2 separate regions of the Homo sapiens genome follow, and region 1 is linked to region 2. The links are contacts of gene promoters, found by promoter capture Hi-C in blood cells and fetal thymus (Javierre and others, 2016). All regions are on one chromosome and are shown on one strand. Each heading gives the region's core, a stretch centred on a gene start or on the middle of the fragment in contact. The rest is flanking DNA. Distances are from core to core; before and after follow the strand shown.

Evidence for each region. The method cuts DNA at HindIII sites, captures the fragments that hold promoters and counts their contacts. A CHiCAGO score of 5 or more calls a contact.
Region 1: a contact is called between a fragment that was not itself captured here and the fragment with the promoter of RRH in region 2, in 1 of 17 cell types (megakaryocytes). The highest score is 5.2, in megakaryocytes.

What each region holds. Positions count from the first base shown.
Region 1 is chr4:109,573,970-109,580,368 of GRCh38, reverse strand. The region is part of intron 1 of MCUB (mitochondrial calcium uniporter dominant negative subunit beta); the gene reads right to left. Among named protein-coding and RNA genes, the nearest start is that of MCUB, 17 kb to the right of the region's middle. The HindIII fragment of the contact is 181 bases long and covers 4,918-5,098 here.
Region 2 is chr4:109,823,288-109,829,384 of GRCh38, reverse strand. RRH (retinal pigment epithelium-derived rhodopsin homolog) reads right to left here and starts at 1,413. Exons shown (of 7, transcript NM_006583.5): 1 at 1,252-1,413. The coding sequence starts at 1,357. GAR1 (GAR1 ribonucleoprotein) reads right to left here. Exons shown (of 7, transcript NM_018983.4): 6 at 5,352-5,420; 7 at 4,648-4,967. The coding sequence ends at 4,954. The HindIII fragment of the contact is 4,893 bases long and covers 1-1,563 here.

The DNA.
Region 1 (6,399 bases), core at 3,759-6,258, 250 kb after region 2:
CATGCTACTATACAGACACATGCACACGTATGTTTATTGTGGCACTATTCACCATAGCAAAGACTTGGAACCAACCCAAATGTCCATCAATGATAGACTGGATTAAGAAAATGTGGCACATATACACCATGGAATACTATGCAGCCATAAAAAAGGATGAGTTCATGTCCTTTGCAGGGACATGGATGCAGCTGGAAACCATCACTCCGAGCAAACTATTGCAAGGACAGAAAACCAAACACCGCATGTTCTCACTCACAATTGGGAACTGAACAATGAGAACACGTGGAAACAGGGCGGGGAACACCACACCTTGGGGCCTGTTGTGGGGTGGGGGGCAAGGGGAGGGATAGCATTAGAAATACCTAATGTAAATGACGAGTTAATGGGTGTAGCAAACCAACATGGCACATGAATACCTATGTAACAAACTGCACGTTGTGCACATGTACCCTAGAACTTAAAGTATAATAAAAAAATAATAAAAAGTTTTATGTTCATTTTTGGGGATTTGGTTCATTATTTCTTCTCTAATATAATTGCTATTTTCAGTCAGACTTTAAATATCATTTTTATTTTGACTCATTCTCTGGATAAATTTAAAGTTGGCAATAACACACAGCTCTTTTCTACATGGCAGTGGTCAGGATTTTTGCACTGATCCTTAGGTGCCTTTAGTGAATTTAAAAGTTGGCTTCCCTTCCTCGATACATTCATGGTCATTTGCCAGAAAAACATAATAAATTTACCTATCCACAATGCAAATGCCACGTCTTACATGTAGCACCCTAGATTAAGTGCAAAACCTGCCTAATGCTATGTGGTGGTCCTGCTTTGCTTTAAATGTGAGGTTTACACTTTGGGAGGCCGAGGCGCGTGGATCACAAGGTCAAGAGATTGAGACCATCTTGGCCAACATGTTGAAACCCCGTCTCTACTAAAAATACAAAAATTAGCTGGGCGTGGTGGCATGCGCCTGTAGTCCCAGCTACTCAGGAGGCTGAGGCAGGAGAATCGCTTGAACCCAGGAGCAGGAGGTTGCAGTGAACTGAGATCACGCCACTGCACTCCAGCCTGGTGACAGAGCGAGACTCCGTCTCAAAAAAAAAAAAAGTGAGGTTTAATCAGAGTCTCAACAACTCAAATATGCTATGGAGGAAAAAGAAATCAACCCATACACTTCTGAGTTTCAAATCCACAACCATGCATTTTAAAGTACAAAACAGAAGTATCACACATGGTCCCTGACCTCAGAGAATGTCTAGTCTAACAGAAGTAACAAATCATGGGAAAAACCAATGCCCTGTATAGTGTATCAGTGACAATGAAGGCAGCGGAAGCAAGTGTGAAGGAATATTGGAGGCGGGACTCCAATGAACAGGATATGGTTATGTAAACAGAAGGAAAGTAGAATATAAAAGTCCCGATACTTTCAAAGAGCAAGCTGATTTTTCTTGTGACTTGTTCATTTTTGTTCTCCAGGAATTAAGGGGATTTCCTTCATAGGGTTCATCTTCAGTTTGCCCATGTCTATTTCTGTGCTTCAAAAAAGAGAGAGGAGAAAAATAGGGCAATGTCATTTTTTGAAAGCATGAGATTCTTTGGGAGGCCGAGGCAGGAGAAGCACTTGCGCCAGGAGTTCGAGACCAGCGTGTGAACACAGTGAGACCTTGTCTCTACAAAAAATTTAAAAAAAGAAAAATTGGCCAGGCATGGTGGTGCACACCTGTAGTCCCAGCTATCTGGGAGACTGAGGCAGAAGGACTGCTTGGGCCCAGGAGGTTGAGGCTGCAGTAAGCTAAGTAAGCTATGATAGATAGCATCTCTGGACTCTAGCCTGGGTAACAGAGTAAATCTGTTTCAAAAAAAAAAAAAGTATGAGATTCATTATGAAGACCTGGATTTAAGTCCTGGCTCGACTACCTACTAACTGTGTGAAACATTTACTTAACCTTTCTGGGCCTCAATTTTCCCATCTATATAAGATGTATGACAAGGCCATGTAGAAATTATATGAGATTGTACATACAGAAAATATTTTGTAACAAGTTATTTTTAATGAGTTATCAAATTTTCATACATCAACCAGCCATTCAGATTTCAAGAACTATATTCCCATATATTGGTTTATGAGCACTTAGGAGGATAACTTTAAAATTTAAGATACTGGATTTTTTGTGTGTGGGGGGAAGAGAGAGAGATTGGTTTTAAGCAACAAAAGAGATAGCTATGTACTAAACTCTAATTTTGCTACAGATACGATACTGAGCCAAACTCTTTTGAAGTTCCTTGCCCAATATTCTTGGATTATTTGAAGTCATATTTGACATCTGACTATGCAAAGAATCAAACTCTCTTTTAATTAATTGAAGTTTTCCACATAAAACTGATGTGGCTAGGTCACTTTTGTGGTCCCTTTTAATATTTAATCTCATAGGTCTTAAAGAATTCAAGTACCCGGCCGGGCGCGGTGGCTCACACCTGTAATCCCAGCACTTTGGGAGGCCGAGGCGGGCGGATCACGAGGTCAGGAGATCGAGACCATCCTGACCAACATGGTGAAACCCCGTCTCTACTAAAAATACAAAAAATTAGCCGGGCGAGGTGGCGGGCGCCTGTAGTCCCAGCTACTCGGGAGGCTGAGGCAGGAGAATGGCGTGAACCCCGGGGGGCGGAGCCTGCAGTGAGCCGAGATCGCGCCACTGCACTCCAGTCTGGGCGACAGAGCGAGACTCCATCTCAAAAAAAAAAAAAAAAAAAAAAAAAAAAAGAATTCAAGTACCCATTTTAGGCTATGAAACGATCAAGTTTTAGCAATATTCAAAGCTCTACTTCAATTAAGTCAGGTGACAGGCTGGGTCTGAGCCTTAGTTGCTTTATCAGTTGATCAATAAATACAGGGTAATATCAGTACCTATTTCCCAGGACTCCCAGAAGTGAGGGGGACTGAGTGAGACAAAGCTCATGATAGTGTATGGCACATGCTAAGCATTAGCTATCGTTTTACATGTATTATTAATGAAACAAAAGGAGTGCTGACTTCAAAAGCTGCTGGTATTAAAAACTGCACAGGATTTACTTGGAAAAAATTAGCTCTGTCATTAAAAATGATTGAATAAAGCACCTGAAGTTTTAACCTGGACTGAGGATTTTTCCATTTCAGTTTTAATAATATTAGAAAGTTCATGATTAAAGGAACCATAAAGAAATAATTTCTGCCCAGGTGTGGTGGCTCACGCCTGTAATCCCAGCACTTTGGGAGGCGGAGGCAGGCAGATCACTTGAGGTAAGAAGTTCAAGACCAGCCTGGCCCACATGGCGAAACCCTGGCTCTACTAAAAATACAAAAATTAGCTGGGCGTGGTGGCACATGCTTGTAATCCCATCTACTCAGGAGGCTGAGGTGGGAGGATCACTTGAACCTGGGAGGCAGAGGCTGCAGTGAGGCGAGATTGCGCCACTGCACTCCAGCCTGGGCAACAAAGTGAGACTCCATCTCAAAAAAAAACAAGAAAGAAAAGAAAGAATTTCTGAGTATCTGGCTTGGCCCTTGACACAGGGTTGTTGTCCACAACCCCTTCATCTTGCCCATCAATAGTAGTCCAAGGTTAGTACACCATCCCTAGTGGTTCCCCTGCGCCCACATCTCTGTGAATCATCCTTTGTGTATAAACTTCCCTCTAATTATCCTAATCTAAGTGGGCCATCTGTTTCCTGTTGGACCATGAATTATACAATCACTTTACACTCTCACTAGCAACACAAAAGAGTTCCCACATCATGCCATGCTTTACGCTTTGAGTTTTTTGTTTTTCTTTGGCAATTTGACAGGCAAAAAAAAAAAAAAAAAGGCAAATGTTATCTTTTTCTACTATTGTTTTTGCATTTTTTTGACTATCAGTGAGGCTGACCACTTTTCATGTTTATTTGCATTTTTATTCCCTGTTCTGAAAACCACTCATGTCTTTTACCCATTTCTTAATGTTTTTCTGATAAGTTTGAATGATCACTTCATATATATTTGTTATTTGGATGAAAGAAACAAATACCTACTTGACTTACCATAAGTAAGAATGGAAATTTACTCTGAGGACTTAGGAATGTCTCTAACGGAGACTACATAGAAGGATTTAATTAAGCCTCAGGAATGGACTCAGGATCAGGAACTGGAGTGTTATATTGAGGTTGGGAAGTCCTCTTGATCCGTATTTCGTCTCCTCCTATCTGCCTGTCAGCATCATTCTGCTTATCACTATAAAATGAATTGTTACTGCTTCTTGGTCCACATGGTAGAAAATGGTCACCACCAAATGGCCCCAAGTACAACTCCACTATTCAAAAGAGCAGCCAGCAGAGGTGAGAATCCTAGACTTAGTTCTAAATTCCTGGGTCAGGTGGCCAATTGAATGAAGGTCAGGTTGGACTAAGATGGCCAATTCGACTAAACCAGGTAGATAAGAGTGAAAAGGTTCCCAGGAAAGCAGTGTGACTAGCACAGACTACAAAGCTGTTCTAAAGTTTCAAAACCAAGAATATTACTATGCTATTATAATATTAATAATTTTAATGGTCACTGCTATACTTATGAAATGACCTTTTTCTAATGTCTAATAGCCTTACATAAATGGGATAACTATAAAGATATTTCATCCTAATTTAGTGTGAAAGATACATTAAGGTGGTATATTTTCTCTCCAAGAGAGGTTAGACTTTGGTGTCAGTTTTCACATAATTGCAGGCATAACAACTGTTGATTACGATGCTTAGTCACTGGCACAAATTCAGACTCCACTAATTAAATGGCAGCACAATCCCACTAAATTGAATAAACTAATTAAACGAATGTGGCTGGATTCGTTATAAAGTGAATTTCATATGTCAAGATGGACTATAACCTGTCAGTACAGCAGCCAAGCTTAAGCTCAAATGAACAACAGTTATGAGTAGTACACTTGAGTTGGTTTCAGGCAAAACCTCACAACAAACAGTCTAACCCCCAATGACCTTTTACAGAAAGATTAATAATATCATATCAATAAAAAGCTAAAACAAAATTACTCTCACTAAATAGTTATTACACTATAAATAAGCCAAAGCTTTTCCTTGGTGGGGAAGGCAGATGGTAAGGAGCGGGCAGAACAAGGGATGAACAGCAGTAGGCTAATTTTAGCAAGGCATCTGAGTTTATCAATCTCCAAACCTCAGTGGTTTCTGACATTGTGATAGATATCAAAGCTGGGTACCCAAGGGACCTCAGAGAACATCAGCGATGAAAGGAAGCGTAGAGATTAAGATCACCTCAGCTTCCATTCTGACCTGCGGCAGCCCTGGGTCTCAAATGCTCCTATTTAAGCTAACTTTTTGGCTTCTCAATAATCTACCCATCTTTCTTTCTACTCAGTCTAACTTCTCATGCAATTGTTAAGTCTCATACTTTTTTTGGATCTCTGTCTTACCCAATCCATCTCTGGGTTGGATTCTCTGTCCCTGGAACAAGTGCTGCTTCCCTGATTTCTATTCTAGGCACTAACACTGTATTTAAAATGAGCACTTCGTTATCAGTGCTTGACCAGTCCGGCTCTGTCTCCCATCCCTCCTTGGCCTGACCAGCGTGGCAGTGCTCATGAGTGCAGCTGCCACCTTCAAGTACTGCACAACAGCTGCTGTCTCATTCCTCATATGATGGTTATTAACGTCTTGTATATGCCCTCAAATTCTCCCTTTTTGACTGCTCTGTGAAAATAGATCTGGGACCTTTAAATATTTTTCCTTTGCTGACTGGCACTGAAGTTTTTTCAGTAGAGGACACTAGAGAGCCACTGACGGAGGAAAAGATTTTGCTTCCTGGTTCGGGTGTGTTCACTTCACAGGCTCCTATTGCATAGATATAGATGGCTTCTCCAGCACCAGGCTCTAGCTGTGTTGGCAGTTTTTCCAGTGCTTCTTTAGCTTCTGCCTGAGTTATTTTAGAAACTTGGGAGTCCTACACTTCAAGAAGCAGTCTATTAGGGAACAGCCAGAATGGATACAAAAATTTTCTTGAACTGAGCTGAACTCTGCCTACCTATTCTGCTCTATCTTGGGAGTAATTTCCTTGCTTGGAAGCAACACAGAATGACAACCTTCTTTCACATGATACCATCTCAGATATTTGAATGCAAATATCTTGCTTTTCCTCAGCTTCTTTTTCACTAGATTAAAAATATGCAGCCCCAGTCGGGCACAGTGGCTGACACCTATAATCCTGGCACTTTGGGAGGCAGAGCCAGGAGTTCAACACCAGTCTGGCCAACACGGTAAAACTCTGATTGTACTAAAAACGCAAAAATTAGCCGGGCATGGTGGTGGCGCGCCTGTAATCCTAGCTTCTTGGGAGGCTGAGGCAGGAGAATAGCTTGA
Region 2 (6,097 bases), core at 164-2,663:
TTGTATACAAAGTATTTCCATGTAATTGTTAGGAGATTTTCTCAGTCTTTTTTGCAATTACAAAAAAACTAGAACTTGTCTAGTACTTATCATAGAGGTATTCAAATGAACGAGATAACGTCACTAAAATCGCAAAACTTAACTGAGGAACTCAATTTCCAGTACTAGAAGTAATACGCTGAATTATAAGGAAGAAACGTAAACAATTATAAACTGGGTATAGGATGGTGTGTTATACTTTTCACTCTACTTTTGAATGTTTGAAAATTTTTATAAAAGTCAATCCAAAAAATAATGAACTCAATATAAGAGTTACTTCTACAACTCGTTAGAGTATAAAGTTGAAAATTAAGTGATTGCTCAATATAAAAGTTACACAATTCAATGATACATTAAAAAGATAAAAAGTTTCTGTCATTCCCCCATCCCTTTTTTTCTGCAAACAATCCTTTACATCAATGAGTGTGTAGGGAGGAAAGGGAAAAAGAAACAAATATTTGTCCAACACCTACTATATGGCATTTATGTGTCACTTAATTTTACTCCTTATAACAATCATGACAGATAACTTATTCTTATCCTTGTTTTACAGATGAGAAAATGGAAGAACAAAAAGGGAAGATACATGCTCACAGTTGCAAATATACTAAAAGATGAAATCCAAAACTCAAGAGTTTTCCAATAAGCATTCTGGAACAAGCTGAATTTTCAGACTCTGTCCTCAATGACAATATACCCTGCTCTGTCTTCTTAGGACTTTTTCTTTCCAGAACCTTTAAGTTCTTAGCTAAATTCTACCACCAAGAACAAAAATATGAGGGTTATGTATAAGAATAGTAAATGACATAAAAATATGTTTTTGCCATGGTGCATACTCTTCTCCAATAAAAACTTTAACAATCCAATAATCAAATACATAGATTTTTATGAAAGAACTATTTATCACATAGAAAACTTTTCTCAGCCCCACTTCACTGCTCTTATTTACCAAAATTCAAAATAACCTGTGGCAATGGCCATCACTAACAATGCTTTCCCTTATTCTTTCACCCACATTATCTTATTTGATCTTTACAGCCCAGAAATAGAGTATCATCATCCTCATTTACCAACGAGCAAGCCAAGTCAGGATAAATGACTTGTCAAGGTTGGCCAATAATATGGAACTTGAAACAATGCATGCCTTATGCTGAAAACTTCTGCCTTTCTTCACCCATTCTAAAGAAAAATAACTTACTTAAATATCCATACCTGCCATAATCAAGTAAGTTGCAACAATATTGTGTTCAGTCTGTGAAAAGACCGAGCCATCTTCATTTTTAGAGTCTGAACTGTTGCCTAAATTATTTCTTAGCATTTTGGAGGGAAGATACCGAAACACCCTTCATAATAAGCCTTCGATAATTATGAACTGCTTTATGAGCTACTGAGGAAAGATTTTTTAGGACCAATCATTTCCACTTAGAGACCTCAAAGAAGGGCCTTTTCATAGAGGCCCTCCCTTAACAAATTTAATTGGGCTAAAGAGGAAAGGACTTTAATTCCCAGAATAAGGGAAAAGCTTATTAGCAAAACAAAAAGAAATACCAAGCACCACACATTTTAACCTATTTGGGCATCAGTCTTCTATCTAAGGAGATTATCAAGCACACACATCCCATTTAACAATAAACAAACTCAGGAAATCAGTATAGGAGCCAGCCTTAGTCCTCTAAAACTATTCGGATTAAGGTCCCTGTTTTCTGTTGACCATTCAAGTCTTTCCATTTCGGCTCCTTTTGTTGTTTTTTTTTTCTTAACAATTTAAATATTAGTGACAAAGAAGTAGTCTCCTTCCTACTTCCAAATCTCACTCTCCTAAAGGTACCAGTATTGTTTGGTGCATATCCTTTCTTAGGCTTTTCTCTGCTTATACACATATTCATACAAGTGTTTCAGGTTTCCTCCACTTTCTTCTTGTAAATAAAAATGAGGGAAAAAAATAAGTACAAATGTATATATATAATGCAACTTGTTTTCCCATAAGGCTGTATTATAATATCCAAGTTAATAAACCCAGAATCTAATAAAGTCTAATTTATTAGTAGCTATGTATTTCATAGCATGGATATAATATGATCAACTCCACCATCCGTTAATTTCCCCTATAGTTTGATATGCACATGAGTAATTAATATTATCTGATGATAGTAATCATTGTATACTTTGCCAGAGTATCTGAATTCAATCACTGATATTGTAAAGTACAGAATAAAAATATTCTGGATTATCACATTACAACCTGAAAACCAACCTGAGCATGTTTTGTTAGAATAATAAGGTATCCCTATTACCTTTTTTCCCATATTCTTTATGCCATTAACATTATTAAAATCTGATTCTCCTCAGTTTCCTAAAATCAGTAAACATTAGAGAAATGCTTAGATGCACCAAAGTTAACAGTGTAAGCATAAAACAGAACCACTAGAGGGCTATATTTACCCACTTAGTTTAATTTTATAAAAATCCTAGAATGGCACAGCAGAAACCTAAGATAATCCTTTTGCTTCAGTTCTCTTGCCTGTGTATAAACTCAAGATGAACAGGTTGATTTATCTGTCCCAAATCTTATAGCTACCAGTACTCACATTTTTATAAATGTAATATTGTTATACCTATACTAGAAAAGCGAATCTCGTCAGTATTGTTTTCAAATGACCCTAGAGCAAAAAACATAATACCCAAGAGGAAATCACTCCCTTTAAAAAGTCTTTGTCTTTTCTTTCATTCAATATGCAAAACAAAACTTAAAATTTTTGAATTTGCTTTGGGTCATACTACCTTCCTTTTCTGTAATAAGTTATACCTAGTTGTAGCATCCATGAAAAATTTTCCAGAAATAATTATTTCTAAGAACTGAAAAATATATAATTTCAGATAGTCAGCTTTCTGCTGCAGATGAAAGTTTTGATATGAGTGAGGTAGGTGCATTTGAAGTTCTTTTTTATGCTTCCTTCATGGGTGATACAGAAAAGCTATATTGGGATAAGGCTTAGAAATACATGTGAATTTGATTCAAAATGAAATGCCTCAAAAAAACCCAGAAACTAGGCCAGGCGCAGTGGCTCACACCTGTAATCCCAGCACTTTGGGAGGCCAAAGCAGGCGGATCACCTGAGGTCAGGAATTCGAGACCAGCCTGACCAACATGGAGAAACCCCATCTCTACTAAAAATACAAAATTAGCCGGGCATGGTGGCGCATGCCTGTAATCCCAGCTACTTGGGAGGCTGAGGCAGGAGAATCGCTTGAACCCGGGAGGTAGAGGTTGCAGTGAGCCGACATTGCACCATTGCACTCCAGCCTGGGCAACAAGAACAAAACTCCGTCTCAAAAAATAATAATAATAAATAAACAAATAAATAAACCCAGAAACTATAAGGAAAAAAAAGGAAAAGATGTGGAAATAAAAGCTTAAAGATGGACAATGAAAAAAAGATATACATAAGCTAAACGGTAAAATTTCCAACTGGTTTGTCTACTGATCTATATGTTATTTCCATTATTGCCATTTTAGATTTATTTTTAATGTTAAAAAAACAAACTGTAGAAATGTTGCGCTATTATTATTTGTCCTTGGGACAATGCCATCACCCTTTGGTGCTTACTAACATCTTTTCCAAACCACGAGCAAAAGCCCTGGCCCTAACACTCCATGAAAATTTCATCACCACAATTCCAAATCAAATAATCTCCTGTCCTAAGCTGTAAAAGCATAACTGCCTATTCCTGTAAAAACTGTAATTTTCAACACATTTGCTCATCATATATATTAATGGCCTATGTATTTATTCATCCTGCTGCAATTCCATCAATCAGAAAAAGATAAAACCCCAAATACTGACAAAGACAACACTGTATGCTCCTCAAATGAGCATTCAAGAGCGTTCCTCCATGGGCATGTTAGAAAATTTAACAAACGATATAGAAACATCATTCCTTTTGAGAAGTGAAAAATGAATGGCAGGGTAAATGGCTCCATATCATGGCATTCTAACTTGCTACCACAGTCATTTCTTTACATCCACTAGCAATGGTGACCAAAACCAATTTCATTTCTAACATCCTTACCCAGCAATCTGAACATGTAGTATGCAATCGAATTCGTGTAGTATACTACACGAATATTTACGTGTAGTAAATAACACCTTAAACTTTTAGAGTCCCTTTAAAAAAGTAAAAATAAAATAACATTCAGTAAAACTTCTAATATTCCATTTATGTTGGATGAGAAAAATTAACTTTAGAAATTTCTTGCTATAGTTTTCACTTCAACAGAGCTACTGCATCTTTAATACATTACTAATATGGAAAATTTTTAAATCAATTATTAATTGCAATTAGAGAAACAGCTTAACTGATTTATGTATTAAAATACAAAAGGCAAATACAAAGCTATCTTCTCATACATAAAAGGCCAGGGTTTTGAAAGGCAGTGTCAACTTGTAAATTATCTTAAAGTACTGCTACAGTAGTCTATTTTTTAAAAGATCAGTAATATAAATAAACAAATCCTTTTTTCGATCTGCAATTCACTGGGTTTAAGCTTTAGTTATTCCTTTCTACTTTAAAAAATGGGTTTCATTTAATAAACACACTCTAAATAACTTAAGGGAATAAAACACTTTATTTTAAAAATTCAAATATGCTTCAAATGAAAACTCCTATCCATTTATTGAGCACCCACAGAGTGCCAGGCACTGTACAAAACATTAGAAAGACTTGTTCATGCTCTTTTAGAGCAAAATTCACTATTCCGTTGCACTTTGCATGATGCTGACATTTTAGATCCATTGTCATAAAATGACCAAGATCTTCAAGACTTGTTCAAGAAACAAGTTTCCAATCCATAGTAGAAACAGATCATGCAGGTTAATGCAGAAGTCAACTGGTGATGTCTGTCAACTGTTTCACTTAATGTCCTCTCCCTGATTAAGAGAAAATTAAAGTATTAAGGGCACAGAAAATGGATTTTTAATAGTATTATAACCTAAATCTCAAGTTTAAAATCAGCATTAGTTCCAATAATGTTTAGCAAACATACTTTACCAAATTTAACTGTCATTCATATTACACCTTTATTTTTCAAATTAATAATAAAGCAAAACAAATTAGAATTAGGTGAAAAAATTGAAAAGAAAAGGCAAAAAAAAAGTGATATAAAATGAAACCACAAATTAGGCTAAGCAAAGAACACCATGGTGTTCTATATACTTGCTGGCAGAGAAAATTAAACTTAAGTAAAAACAGAAAATGCCAGATAATATCAATTTTAAACATTAAGCAATTTAAAGACTTTTTAAAATACTCACCTCTGAAACCACCACCTCTTCCTCCTCTGAAGCCCCCACCTCCACCTCCTCTTCCACCTCTAAAACCACCTAAAAAACATTTATTAAATAATAACGCAAAGTATTTAAATAACAATAGAATATAATAATCATTAAGTTATTAACTGTATAACCTCTTATATTGATAAGCCTAAAAAGATCAATACAATAACTATAATTATAATGAATAAATATAGATTCACATATTTTATCAGGGAAAAAATTTTAGAAGATAAAAATGGAGAAACTGTAGTAGTTTACCAACTGGGCAACAGGCTAAAACCCCAGATTATTCCATTTCAATAAATTAGAAAAACTTGTTAAAGTATGATTCAGTCTTGTTAAATGTATGACTATTGCCTTAGCTCTTGCTTATGATAAATACTTTTTTGATTCAACTAAGGATAGTTTGATGGAACTGTGGCTTTTTATCCTAACAACAAAGGGTGGCAGATATGGGTGCTTTTGCTCTGGGGGTAAGATAATAAATATGATAGTTAAGATTAACTGAGCTACATAAGTAAGATTTTAAAAAAATAAGACAGCTGTGAATTTTTTGAAATGTTAAATGATACTCAACATAACATGAGAATAGGGGAATCTCTGTTCATCAAATTCTCAAGAAGGTACCCCTGAGAATTTTCCTACCTATATGGACACAAAAAAATACCTTTATGGAGTGAAATGGTGATTAAATTGAGAAACGCCAAAAGTGAGGCGTTCCTTCT